2 separate regions of the Homo sapiens genome follow, and region 2 is linked to region 1. Evidence: promoter capture Hi-C in 16 types of primary human blood cells and fetal thymus (Javierre and others, 2016). All regions are on one chromosome and are shown on one strand. Each heading gives the region's core, a stretch centred on a gene start or on the middle of the fragment in contact. The rest is flanking DNA. Distances are from core to core; before and after follow the strand shown.

The links. The method cuts DNA at HindIII sites, captures the fragments that hold promoters and counts their contacts. A CHiCAGO score of 5 or more calls a contact.
Region 2: a contact is called between a fragment that was not itself captured here and the fragment with the promoter of P3H2 in region 1, in 3 of 17 cell types (endothelial precursors, megakaryocytes and erythroblasts). The highest score is 13.9, in endothelial precursors.

The regions. Positions count from the first base shown.
Region 1 is chr3:190,118,183-190,124,799 of GRCh38, forward strand. It overlaps P3H2 (prolyl 3-hydroxylase 2), which reads right to left and starts at 2,715. Exons shown (of 15, transcript NM_018192.4): 1 at 2,070-2,715. The coding sequence starts at 2,549. It overlaps P3H2-AS1 (P3H2 antisense RNA 1), which reads left to right and starts at 2,782. Exons shown (of 4, transcript NR_126419.1): 1 at 2,782-2,907. RefSeq lists silencers at 2,192-2,271, 2,482-2,711, 2,658-2,952 and an enhancer at 2,922-3,101. The HindIII fragment of the contact is 2,204 bases long and covers 1,111-3,314 here.
Region 2 is chr3:189,963,157-189,969,773 of GRCh38, forward strand. P3H2 (prolyl 3-hydroxylase 2) reads right to left here. Exons shown (of 15, transcript NM_018192.4): 14 at 802-942. It also overlaps the pseudogene MTAPP2. Among named protein-coding and RNA genes, the nearest start is that of MIR944, 140 kb to the left of the region's middle. The HindIII fragment of the contact is 1,030 bases long and covers 3,402-4,431 here.

The DNA of each region.
Region 1 (6,617 bases), core at 1,465-3,964:
AGAATTCCAGAACCAGGGAAACCCACATATTGAGAGTTACCTCATGGTTATTTGTTTTTATAGGACTGACCTTGACTATGTATTCTTTCTCCAGATATGAGAAAGGAAAATATGTCCAAAATTTGTGACAGAATTAACAGCAGGACTGCTAACCTTACATCCGAGACTCCTGGGAGGACCAAGCTACAGGGACCACCCATGTTCTGCTCTGGGAACTAGCTTATGATAACTTCACCGTCAGACACTCAAGGTCCCCTCTCTGCCTGGTGTTGACTGATTTCTGTAAGACCACCAGAAATTGTGTAAATCACTTAGAAGAAATTAGAGTTATACTTCATACATGCCTTAGCAATCAGGAGGCACAAGCAAGCAGAAGACAAGTCCTGGAAAGGATTCAGACTTTCTCCTCATTTCTTGCCCAAGATACTAGTCCAGTGAACTCCAACACCTTAGCCACAACACAAGGAAGTTAAGATTTATACTTAGTTGAAATTTCGTGCACTCCACCAACAGTTGCCAATCTGAGAGAACCCTACCACAGATGAGGGCAGAGATCTTGTGGGATGAGCTGCAAAAGGCATTTGGATATTTGAACATGGTATGTACTTTCATCTCCTTAGAAACACAGCCTGGTCCAGCCGTGCTCACGCCTATAATCCCAGCACTTTTGGAGGCGGAGACGGACGGGTCACCTGAGGTCAGGAGTTCGAGACCAGCCTGGCCAACATGGTGAAACCCCTTCGCTACTAAAAATACACAAACACACACAAAAATTAGCCCGGCATGGTGGTGCACACCTGTAATCCCAGCTACTCAGGAGGCTGAGGCAGGAGAATCGTTTGAGCCCGGGAGGCGGAGGTTGCAGTGAGCCCAGATTGCACCACTGCACTCCAGCCTGGGTGACAAGAGCAAAACTCCGTCAAAAAAAGAAAAGAAAAGGAAGAGAGGAGAGGAGAGGGGAGGGGAGGGGAGGGGAGGGGAGGGGAGGGGAGAGGAGAGGAGAGGAGAGGAGGGGAGAGGAGAGGAGAAAAGAAAGCAAAGCAGAGCACAGCAGAGCAGAGCAGAGCAGAGCAGCCTGGTCCATTGGCTAGCATGAACAACCAACCCCAAAGCTTCCACTTTTCCGGTAGCTGTAGAAGATACATTGATATATTAACACAGAAAACGAGAAAGAAGGGTTAAGAGTGTCAATTTGAAGGAAAATTGGGTGAGTGGCAGTGGAGGTTGAAGAACTCATTCAAATTCCCTCTGCTGAAGCATCCAGAGAGATCTTCAAAGTTATGGATGTGAACAATATGTCAATATGCATACTATACCTCCTGACGCTAACTTTAGGCAAGTTAGGCATACAAAAATAAAACTAGAAAGAGAGGACTGATGCCTAGTAACCCAGTCCAATGCATACCACCAGAAAACGTAAGCCCTCTATCAAAGGAGAAAAAGTCAACACTTAGGGTGGATACTTTGACTGAGACTGCCTCAAACAGCTTCGCCTCCTCCAAGCATACCTTCTCTTTAACCTTTGATCTTTACTTTTTTGTAGGTGAAGGGGAGAAGAGAGAGAAATTTGTTTTGGAACAGGTCTTTCAACTTCACTATTTTGAAGATTCTTTTAAACTTCAGAGAAAAGGTGCAGACTACAGTATAGGAAGGATAAGAGAGAGGAGACAAAAGAAATGGGAAGTGAGAAGGGAGAAGAGAAATGGGAAGTGAGAAGGGAGAAGAGAAATGGGAAGTGAGAAGGGAGAAGATAAATTGTACTAGATTCAGCTTTGTCAATGCCTCATGAATTAGTGCTGAATGGGTACTTTAAACATCACCTTATCAGGACAGTCCTCTTTTTGAGAGAGAAGCTGGCTCTGAGAAAGAGAGAAAAAGACTTGTCCAAGTTAATCAATTGTTGCATACAGAGATAGGGCCACCAGATATCTGGATTCACAAACTGAGACACATATTTAAGGAGACCCAATTCGAAAGACTGAACAGAGATGACGGGGGCAGCAGGGAGGGCTCAAGAGAGCGTGTGAGAGCCGCAGGGGCTTTGCAGTGGAGGAGCGCTCTGTGGGTACCTTGATGTAGGCCCGCTGCAGGTAGTTGTAGGGCACTCTGCGCTGGAAGTCGCTGCGCACATCCTCGCTGACGCGGTGGCGGGATGCGGGGCCCCCGAGGCGCTGGGTCTCACAGCTGCGATAACAGCGCGCCCGCCCCAACAAGGAGCGGAAAAGGGGCAGCTCAGCGCCGGGGCCCTCGCCGGGGGGCGGGGGCGGGAGCGGGTGGCGCGCCGCGCAGTGGCGGGCACAGCGCGTGCGGATTTCCCGCAGGCGCCGGTGGCTGCGCAGCGCCGCTTCCAAGTCGCGCACCGCTCGCTCGTAGTCTCCGCTGTAGTAGGCGGCCGCGCCGCTGGCGTAGAGCAGGTCGAAGGGCTGCAGAGGCCCGGGCTCCAGCTCCAGCTCCCGGCGTGGGCTGTCCGGGGGGCCGCCCCACAGTGGCGGCGGCAGTAGCAGCGGCAGCAGCAGCAGCAGCGGCGGCGCCCAGATGCGCTCCCGCATCCTCCGCCTCAGAGAGGCGCGGGACGGTTACGCTCGAGAGGGCTTCGGGGCACCTCGCGTCCGGGTCCCCTCTCCCACCTTCCCTCGGGGAAGCGCGCCGACTCCGCCGCGATCTGGCCGCTCCGCGAGCCCCAGGTGACCGCCGGCGCTCCGCGTACTGAGAGGCGGAGGCCGTGCCTGGCCAGCCGCTCTTAAAGGGACGCCCACAGCTCACACGCTCCTCCTGCTGCCTGAGACTCCGAGAGCCGCTCTCCCAGGCTCCCCGCTGCAGCGGCGGGGCTGCCAGGGGCGGCACACTCCAGCGCCAGCCAGAGAGCTAGCGCCGCTTGAGGCCGGCCGGGGACGAGGCGCTTTACACGTGAGCTCCCTTCTGGTTGTACAAGTGGATAGTATTAGTCTTCTTTTTGGGAAATAAAGAAAATCCAGCTTAGCAAGGTTAGGGCCTTAATCATATTCTGGAATCTCTGTATGGCCTCGCAGTTTGCAGAGTGCTTCACCTTCTAAATGAAGCCTGGAGCGCCATTTCAGACTGAATCAAACCGTAGATGCCATGTGTACCTACGCAACAAATCTGCGCATTCTGCACGTGTATCCCGGAACGTAAAGTTAAAAAAAAAAAGAATAAATAAATAAATAAATAGAAAAAAAACCCATAGAGGCCCTGTAGGCCCAGATGCGGAGGTTTAAGAAGATAAGTGATTTGCCTAAATGCATAGAGCTGAGAAGTGGCAAAGGACGGACCCAACCCAGGGCCTTTAGAACCAAAGCTTACCGCTTCTTCTCTTGGGGAAGGTTTCTCCCTTACCTTTTCGTCCAACTTGGTGTGGATGTGTGTCCGGGCATTGGATCAGGGCGCTGGGCCAGGGGAAGAACAATATATAGCCTGCCTTTCCTGTGCAGCCCGTGGTTTTACAGGGCCCAGAGAACCTTTGGAGGCAGGAGGAGCTGTACTCGCATTCTGGCTCCGTCCGTTTACCAGCTGTGTGACCTTGGCAACTGAGGGCCTCAGTTTCCTCATCTCCTAAACAGCCAGACGCCTAACACGTAAAATGCTATTCAGAAAAAAATTCTTGCTGTGGGCCAGGTGCAGTGGCTCACCCCTGTAATCCCAGCACTTTGGGAGGCCAAGGCGGGTGGATCACCTGAGGTCAGGAGTTCGAGACCAGCCTGGCCACCATGGCAAAACCCCGTCTCTACTAAAAATACAAAAATTAGCTGGGCGTGGTGGCACGTGCCTGCAGACCCAGCTACTCAGGAGGCTGAGGCAGGATAATTGCTTGAACCTGGGAGGTGAAGGTTGCAGTGAGCTGAGATCATGCAGCCTGGGTGACAGAGTGAGACTCCGTCTCAAAAACAAAAAAAACAAAGAAAAAGAAAAGAGAGGAGAGGAGGGGAGGGGAGGGGACGGGAGAGGAGAGGGAAATTCTTATTCTAAGAGTTGAACAAAGAGGCAATTTAGTATATCCCTTACCTCAAGGAATTAAGCAATCTGCATCAATCTAGGAATGAGAAAGCTGACAGAAATGGTTGCCAGATTCCAAACGACTAGCTGGAGGCTTCCTGTTCCTCCCCTTCTCCTCTGTCACGAATACATTCTTAGCCAAGGTGTTCCCCTCTTTCGTGTTCCTTGGCTTCACACTCTCACAAGAATATTGGTTGGACCCTGGATCCCAGCCTGCCTCCTGGAGGCATTTCTGTGGTCTTCTAGTGCCTGTGAGAATCTCATCAGTCTTTCAGCCCCTGCAATGGTGAGCAGAGGGACAGGCAATGGGAAAAAGACTCACGCATGTATCTAGTTGCTATGATTTTTCCGAAGAAGGCTTTTATGTGGAATCACCACTACGCTGAGGGGCTTGCCAGAGATTCATGCTGATTCCTTCATTCATTTTGTTAGGTTTGACCACTCAGGCCATGAACAGCCCTGGCTGTGTAATTCCAAGAGACACTGATGAATCATGCTCTTTTTTTTTCCCACCAAACGTTACTAATTCGGCTCATATCACTGATGAAAAAGCTCCAGTTTGGAGCTGAATGTATATTGAATGCCTTGGATGGTCAGTGTTCCAGAATTAGCACATCAGTCATCTGCCCAGACTTTTTCTCTAGAGATTGTCTGTTTTCAGATAAAGATTTTGGAGTCTAGTCCAGGGTTATCAGTCCACTTGTGGAAGGTTTTGAAGCACATCAGGATAGGAACTCCTGCTGTGGGACTGAGGGCAAAGTGCCAGGATACCTTGCTACATTCTATTTGTACATTTGGTGACATTTCTACATCATTTAATATATTTCAATTAAATTAACAATTTTTGATGCCTACTCTTAAAGTAAATATTCTAGGTGAAAGAGAAGATAAGTCAGGATTCTTACCTTTGGGAAGCTCACAGTACTGTATAGGAAACAAATTTGATATATATAATGTATACAGCTATAATACAAGGTAGAATGTGGTACGTGTTAGATTAGATTGAAAGTGTTGGCCGGGCGCAGTGGCTCACACTTGTGATCCCAGCACTTTGGGAGGCCGAGGCAGGTGGATCACCTGAGCTCAGGAGTTGGAGACCAGCTTGGCCAACATGGTGAAATTCCGTCTCTACTGAAAATACAAAAATCAACTGGGCGTGGTGGCAGGCACATTTAATCCCAGCTACTCAGGAGGCTGAGGCAGGAGAATCACTTGAACCCGGGATGCAGAGGTTGCAGTCAGCCAAGATCGCGCCATTGTACTCCAGCCTGAGCCACAGAGTGAGACTCAGTCTCAAAAAACAAAAAGAAAAAAAAAAAAGAAGAAGAAAGAAAAAAGAGCTCTGGGAACACAGAGGTTACAAAGATAGCTTCTGGCTAGAAGGATCTAAAAAGACTTAGGGAAATAATTGGCATTAGCACACAGTCAATAGCCTATAGAATGCAACCACATCCTACTGATTGCCAAATTGGCCAGGTTCTTTCAAGCCTCTTGTATGTCCTACTACCTTATTTCTTATATCTTACTACAAGTAGTAAGTAAGTAATATGCCTTGTATTACTACCTTACGTACAATCTCTGCCTGACTTGAGAGAAACTATTCATTGACAACTCAAATTTGCTTGAACATTAGAATCACCTAAGAAGTGTCTGGCTTCTGCTCTGAAAGATTCTGATTTATTGGTCTGGGATATGACCTGAGCGATGGGATTTTTAGAAGTTTCCCAGGTGATTATAATACGAAGCCAAGGTTGAGAACCACAGGTCTACAGCTAATGCCACAGCCCAAAGAATAAGTCTATGAGTTGGGGTTCCAGGTGCTGTGTAGAATTCATGAGTAGGTAGGGTTTGGAGAATAGGTAGGGTTTTGTGTAATCCCCCAGATATTCCCTCCCAGGAAAGCCAATCTGATCTGCTTTTTAAGGCTGGATCAGGACAAAAAGTTCATGACCTTATGGTAATAAGAGCCATGCAGTGCCAAGAAGCTGATTCCAGGTCATGCTGTCCCAGTGGTACTTACTCAATGTTGGAACAGACAGTCATCCACGAGTCTCTTATACTCCTGAACTTCTCACAGAGTGTGCCAAGAATGTACTTTTTCCTTAAATAATTAACTGACTTCCATCTCAGAGTTCCGGATTCACTAAACCTGGGGTGGAGCTTTCAAATTTGCATTTCTAACTTGTTCCTTGATGATGTGCTGCCCATACTTTATTATCTGATTTCTTAGGAACAATGGTTCTAAAACTTCGTTGTGTTGTGAAAAAGCTAGTAAGATCGTGGAGACCCTGGATTTTTGAACTAGAATCTAGTCTGGGCCTTTATATTTTTACCAGTTTCTCAGGTGATGCAGATACTAACCAAAGGTTAAGATTCACAGCTTCAGTTAGAGCAGTGGTTCTCAATTGAGAGTGATTGTACTCCCCAGAGGACATTTCACATTATCTGGAGGTATTTTTGGTTGTCGGATCTGGGGCATGGTAGGTGGGAGCATTCATACTGTTGGTGTCTAGTGGGTAGAACCAGGGATGGTGTTGACCATACTGCAATACACAAGACAGCTACCTACAAGAAATAATTATTCAGTCTAATGTGTCAATGGTGCC
Region 2 (6,617 bases), core at 2,667-5,166, 150 kb before region 1:
CTGCAGCTCCACAGGTGGAGACTATGACATCTGCCCACGGGCTTCCAAAACGATGAGATCATGGTCTCCTCCTAGCTAAGTGTCCTCAGCTAGTTTGCATATAATAATATTGAAATACTTAATGTAATAACAGTAATAAGTAATAATAATCTTTTAGGTTTCCTTGCCCTCTTTCAAATACGTTTCATAAATGATTCAATACTATTTCTTATGATTTGCGAGAAAACAAATCCGTCTTCTGGGTGACCAATAAAAAGTGATTCCTCCCTGATGCCACAGAGTTGTTTTGGTTTTTGTTTTTGTTTTGAGACAGAGTCTTGCCCTGTTGCCCAGGCTGAAGTGCAGTGGTGCGATCTCGGCTTACTGCAATTTACGCCTCCCAGGTTCAAGCGATTCTCCTGCCTCAGCTTCCCGAGTAACTGGAACTACAGGCGCATGCCACCACATCCAGCTAATTTTGTATTTTTAGTAGAGATGGGGTTTCAGCATGTTGATCAGGCTGGTCTCGAACTCCCGACCTCAAGTGATCTGCCCACCTCGGCCTCCCAAAGTTCTGGGGTTATAGGAGTGAGCCACCACGCCCAGCCTTACAATTTGTTAATAAGCTCAAGACAGATTAGTGACTATCAAATATCATTGACACAGCTATTTCTACAAACATCTTCACTTACTAGAACATATCTGATTAAGAACTGCCTTTACCCTCTTCTTTTCCTCAGACGAAGCAATTTAAAGGACTTCTCAGATAAAGCAGTTCATGAAGCAAGCCTAATTGGCTTTCTGGGCGGGTGAGAAACTCACCAATTCTCTATAAAGTGGGTCCAAGGTGAACCACAGAGCCACAGCACACCTCTTTCCCTTGGTGACTGCCTTCACCCCATGAGGGTTCTCTCCTCCAGATGAGAAGCTGATCATGCGCCCACATTTTGGTTTTATAGAGGCCTGAGAAAGAAAGCAAAAATTAGACTTTCAATTGTTGTATCATAAACATTTCCACAACTCCTGCTTCTCTGGCTATGAGATTATTTGAGTTAAGGCCTGAGGCGAAGAATAAAGGAATCCTGGGATTGAAGATGATGTAAATTATCTCAATTTTCTCACCCGTAAAACAAAGGTAAGGTCAAAATAATATATACCTCAGAAAATAAAAAGATGTTCAAGTAAAACGTGTAGCAAAGTCCACATACATAGTAATCATTCAATACATGCTATATATATGATAGCCTGCAAATTCAAAGAAGGCAAAGTTTTCCTCTCATAATTCATTTCTGTAGCTTTTGCACTAGCAAAGCATCCGGATACAAGGTAGGTGTCCATTCCATACTTGTGTAATTAACAAACAAACAAACAGGACATCTGCAGTGCTGGAAAAGTTGTTATTGATCTAGGTAGTGGTTACATGAGCGTATACGCTTTCTAATTTTTAAATTGTACATTCATGGTTTATGTGCTTTTCACAATACAAACATTTTTAAAAGTCATAATTCTGTATGATATTTCATTTCCTTTACACTATTGTTTCCCAGTGGTCGTTTAGGCATTGTTTGAACATCTCTAGTGGTGAGAACACGACACCCCTTGGAGTGGCCTATTCGCCATCACCCTTAAGTGTTTTAAGACTGACACAGTCCTTCGCAGCTTATGCACTGCTCAGGTGGAGCTGTCCACAGCGTTTAGGTAGAAGAGTGTAGTGAGAGAAAAAGAAATACTGCTGGGCTCACTGAGCCAGGGTAGAAGATCAAACAAGCTGCCTCTTCAAATTGAATGAGCTTAAGCAACTGAATATTAGAGGCCTTGCTTCTGTGTTTAAAGAAGTGTCTCATGTGAGTAGAATCCATTTTGTCTTTCTTGGGAAATACAGAAACTTTATTCATTCCTCTGTATAGTTCAGAAAAGTAAAGTAAAACCAAAAAAAAGTGGCACTAGCCATTTTACTAGGTGAGAACATGGACTGGTTCTCACTAGCCATTTTCTGAATTGACTTGAGTTGACATATGCCCGTAAATCTTTGGTTTCCTTCTGCATAAAATGAGCTGGCTGGTTTTTCACTGCTAGCTTCAGGAAGAATATTTGAAAAATTTCCTAAAGTCCTTGGTTGCTACATAACATAGGTACTCCCGGACTACGTGACTACATATGGAAGGTAAGAGGTAGGTGGAGGAGTCGGAAAGCCAGAGAGACAGGTGGGTGCATATGTGTTTATGTGGGCATGTGTGTGTGTTTATGTCTGTGTGAGTCTGCATGTGTGTGTATATGTGACTTGTGTGTGAGTGTTAAAGGGAAGAGCAGAAAAAAAGCAGTCAGTTTCTTTTTACTCTTCTACTCACAATAACTGAAGAGTGATTTGTCTTTGCTGGAATTGCTTTTCCTAAACAGCTTTACCAAGGCAACTGTTCTGATGTAAATCTAGAGAGTTCACGAGTTAGTCGTGTCCTCAGTATCAATGTGATTCTGTTTTTCTGGAGAAGGAATTTGTACATTTCCACATAGAAGCAGCAAAATAAGTGAAAGGTAAAACCTGTGAAGTAGGATAGAAAAGACTTCTGAGGCCGGGCGTGGTGGCTCACGCCTATAATCCCAGCACTTTAGGAGGCCAAGGCAGGTGGATCACCTGAGGTCAGGAGTTTGAGACCAGCCTGGCCAACATGGTGAAACCCCGTCTCTACTAAAAATACAAAAATTAGCCAGATGTGTTGGTGGGTGCCTGTGATCCCAGCTACTCAGGAGGCTGAGGCAGGAGAATCGCTTGAACCTGGGAGACGGAAGTTGCAGTGAGCTGAGATCGTGCTACTGCACTCCAGTCTGGGTGACAGAAAAAAAAAAAAAGAAAGAAAGAAAAGAAAGAAGAGAGGGAGAGAAAGAAAGAAAAAGAGAGAGAGAAAGAAAGAAAAGAAAGAAAGAAAGAAAGAGAAAGAAGGAAAGAAAGGAAGAAAGAAAGAAAGAAAGAAAAAAGAAAGAAAGAAAGAAAAAGAAAGAAAGAAAGAAAGAAAGAAAGAAAGAAAGAAAGAAAGAAAGAAAGAAAGAAAGAAAGAAAGAAAAGCCTTCTGAGTAAATGGCCTTGGGATGTTGGAATTTCAGGTTTTCTGGGCTGCCCACTCCCTGGTGCTGGTCAGGACTCACTCAAACACGCATTTGCCAATGTTTCTATGTGATTACCAAGTCTTGGTAACATCTTATAAGACTAAAGAAAGGATGTGGGGACAAATTAGTATTTTCTTTCTTCTGGAATTGAAAGTAATTTTAAACATGAATAACTTTGGGAAAGTTTAGGAAAAGAAGCTGTGAACTGTATGAGGCGGTTGGAACTGATTATAGCCGTGGATTCACAAGGATCTCTAAGACCCATCTCATCACACAGCGAACATCATCTGTTACATGTCAGGTATTTGGAGGAATAAACAAGCTTTAGTGAACCTGCTTCCATGTGTGACATTGTTTCTACAGCAAAAATATGTTATGAAGTTTGGATAAATGATTATAAACATACTTTTGTAACACAGCCCCGTTTATACTGAATTTAATTTTTCATGAAACAAATGGAACTCATTAAATTTTATCTTCTTTGAACCTGCACAGAGAAACCAACATCCTTGAATTCCCAAGTCTCACAAACAAATGCCGCTATTGAAAAGAATCCACATATCTTCCAAGTATACTAAGCATAATTTAAAATAATCCTTTTGCTTTCCGTCTAACTGATGATTGATTTAGAAAAGCGTTTGTGCTGTAATTGTCTTTAATAAAAGTAAAATTTCAGCCACCTTTCAGATAATTACACAACTTCCAGATTTTTCCAAAGTAAAGGACTCAGAAGACGTTACTTCCTTATGTGGCCTCAAGTTATGCCATTTCTCTGCTCCATTTGTCCCTCCACAGTCAAAGGGAAACTAAAACAGAAAAATACCCATTTCTGTTGCTGTTGTTGTTGTTGCTGGTACTAGAATAAACTTCCTGTGGGGAAAGATAAGAACTGCCTTACGTAAGAATTTTAGTTATCTACGTTATTCCCTAAAATGCCACTGTATGCATTAATATGAAGTATTTGAGGAAATAAATGTTCTCAAACAGGAGCTTTTGGATTAAAAATTTGTTTAAATCAGTTTTAGTTTTTTTAGGGGAGGTTAGATTCTGGGTTTTTAAAAATAGTTATAGATTTTAATTAAAATTGTAGCACTCTGAAAGGAGAATATTATCTGCTTTCACATCTTTAAAAAGTAGAATTCCAGTTAACTTGACATTCAAAAATTAATGAAACAGGCATCCCTTGCTTTAAGCATCAAGCATTTCCAAATACGGCCACTAGATGGAGGAGAAGCAAAGAAATCTTTTCAACCACCTGTCTGACTTTCTTTGAAACTGCGAAATGCCAGTATTTTTGTACCTCAGTTTCAGTGTTAGCAGAGATCAGAAATAAAATGCTTCCTACACTCAAGCTTTCCCAGAAGTGCAAAAAACCTTCTGGACTTTAAACTCCAATACAGATCGTCAATCTTGATTTAATTTATCAGATTACGGAGTATTAAAGTACTCCCATATTAACATTTAAGCTTTTTACCCAAAAAGTGAGGCATCATGACTTTTTAACATATATTATTGTATGAAGTCACATGAAATATTTTTTCTTAGTTATTACAATGTTTCTAGACAATTTTAACGAGAATCCTCATAGGAATCACCTTTTAACCCAGTAATACATACTTTTTGATATTACCTGCTTATATCACAGTACTGTGTGATGAATAACATATGTGTGTCATAAATGACAGATATGTTTCACTAATGAGAAAAGCATGTAAGCTATGAGGGACAAGCATAAAATTCAAGAAAAGTTTAGAAATAGCTTCTATAATGCCAAAACTTTGAAGTTTATCACATACATGTCCCAACTACTTAGATTTTGTATGGTGGTGAGAGATACCTGGTCATCTATAATCTGCTTACTTTCTCAATTGGAAATTTTTTTATTATTATTATACTTTTAAGTTCTAGTGTACATGTGCAGAATGTGCAGGTTTGTTACATAGGTGTACATGTGCCATGGTGGTTTGCTGCACCCCATCAAACCATTATCTACATTAAGTATTTCTCCTAATGTTATCCCCCTGACAGGCCCTGGTGTGTGATGTTACCCTCCGTGTCCATGTGTTCTCATTGTTCAGCTCCCACTTATGAGTGAGAACATGTGGTGTTTGGTTTTCTGTTCCTGTGTTTGTTTGTTGAGAATGATGGTTTCCAGCTTCATCCATGTCCCTGAAAAGGACATGAACTCATCCTTTTTTATGGCTGCATAGTCTTCCATGGTATATATCTGCTACATTTTCTTTATCCAGTCTATCATTGATGAGCATTTGGGTTGGTACCAAGTCTTTGCTATTGTGAACAGTGCCGCAATAAACATACATGTGCATATGTCTTTATAGTAGAATGATTTATAATCCTTTGGGTATATACCTAGTAATGGGATTGCTGGGTCAAATGGTATTTCTGGTTCTAGATCCTTGAGGAATTGCCACACTGTCTTCCACAATGGTTGAACTAATTTACACTCCCACCAACAGTATAAAAGCATTCCTATTTCTCCACATCCTCTCCAGCATCTGTTGTTTCCTGACTTTTTAATGATCGCCATTCTAACTGGCGTGAGATGGTATCTCATTGTGGTTTTGATTTGCATGTCTCTAATGACCAGTGATGATGAGCTTTTTTTCATATGTTTGTTGGCCTCATAAATGTCTTCTTTTGAGAAGTGTCTGTTCATATCCTTCTCCCACTTTTTGATGGGGTTGTTTGTTTGTTTTTCTTGTAAATTTGTTAAAGTTCTCTGTAGATTCTAGATATTAGCCCTTTGTCAAAAGGATAAATTGCAAAAATTTTAAAACAGAAAACTGGGCTATATTCTTCAGGCCATGGAGGGTTTTTGACCATTCCATGGATCCTATCTGAGGTATGGCAGTGAGCAGTAAACTTTTGGCTTTACTAGCATTTTCTTTCGGGGTCTGTAAGTCCCGGTCCACCAAAACTGCTTCCTCGTGCTCCTTCCAGCAGTCATAATCTGTCACCATGGCAATACTCGCATAACAAATTCCAGCCTCTTTAGTGAGAACCACCTCTGGAACTGTGGTCATGTTGATAACATCCACCCCCCAGGTGCAGAACATGAAGCTTTCTGCTCAAGAGATAAAACGAGGTCCCTCAGTTGTGACCATTGTCCCCTTTGAATGTCACCAGAGTCCTAGCTTCTTAGCAGTCTCTATAAGAACGTCTCTCGTTTGGGGGCTTGGCCCCCATTGGAATATGGCACACTCCTCTAGCACAACAATGACTTCCATCATAGAGGGACTGAGGTCTCATACTGGTCCTGTCAATGAACTGATCAATAATGACAATATCGCCAGGTTGAATCTCCTCCCTCAAGGAGCCACAAGCTGTGGTCCCTATGACATGTGTACAGCCCTCTTCCTTCAAAGCCCAGATGGTCGCCTGGTAGTTGACCTTGGAAGCCAGGATGGTGTGCTGCCTCCCATGCCTTGCAAGGAGGACACAATCAACATTTTTTATCTTCCCCAAAATTAAGACATCAAATGGCTTGCCAAATGGAGTATCCACATATTTTTCAG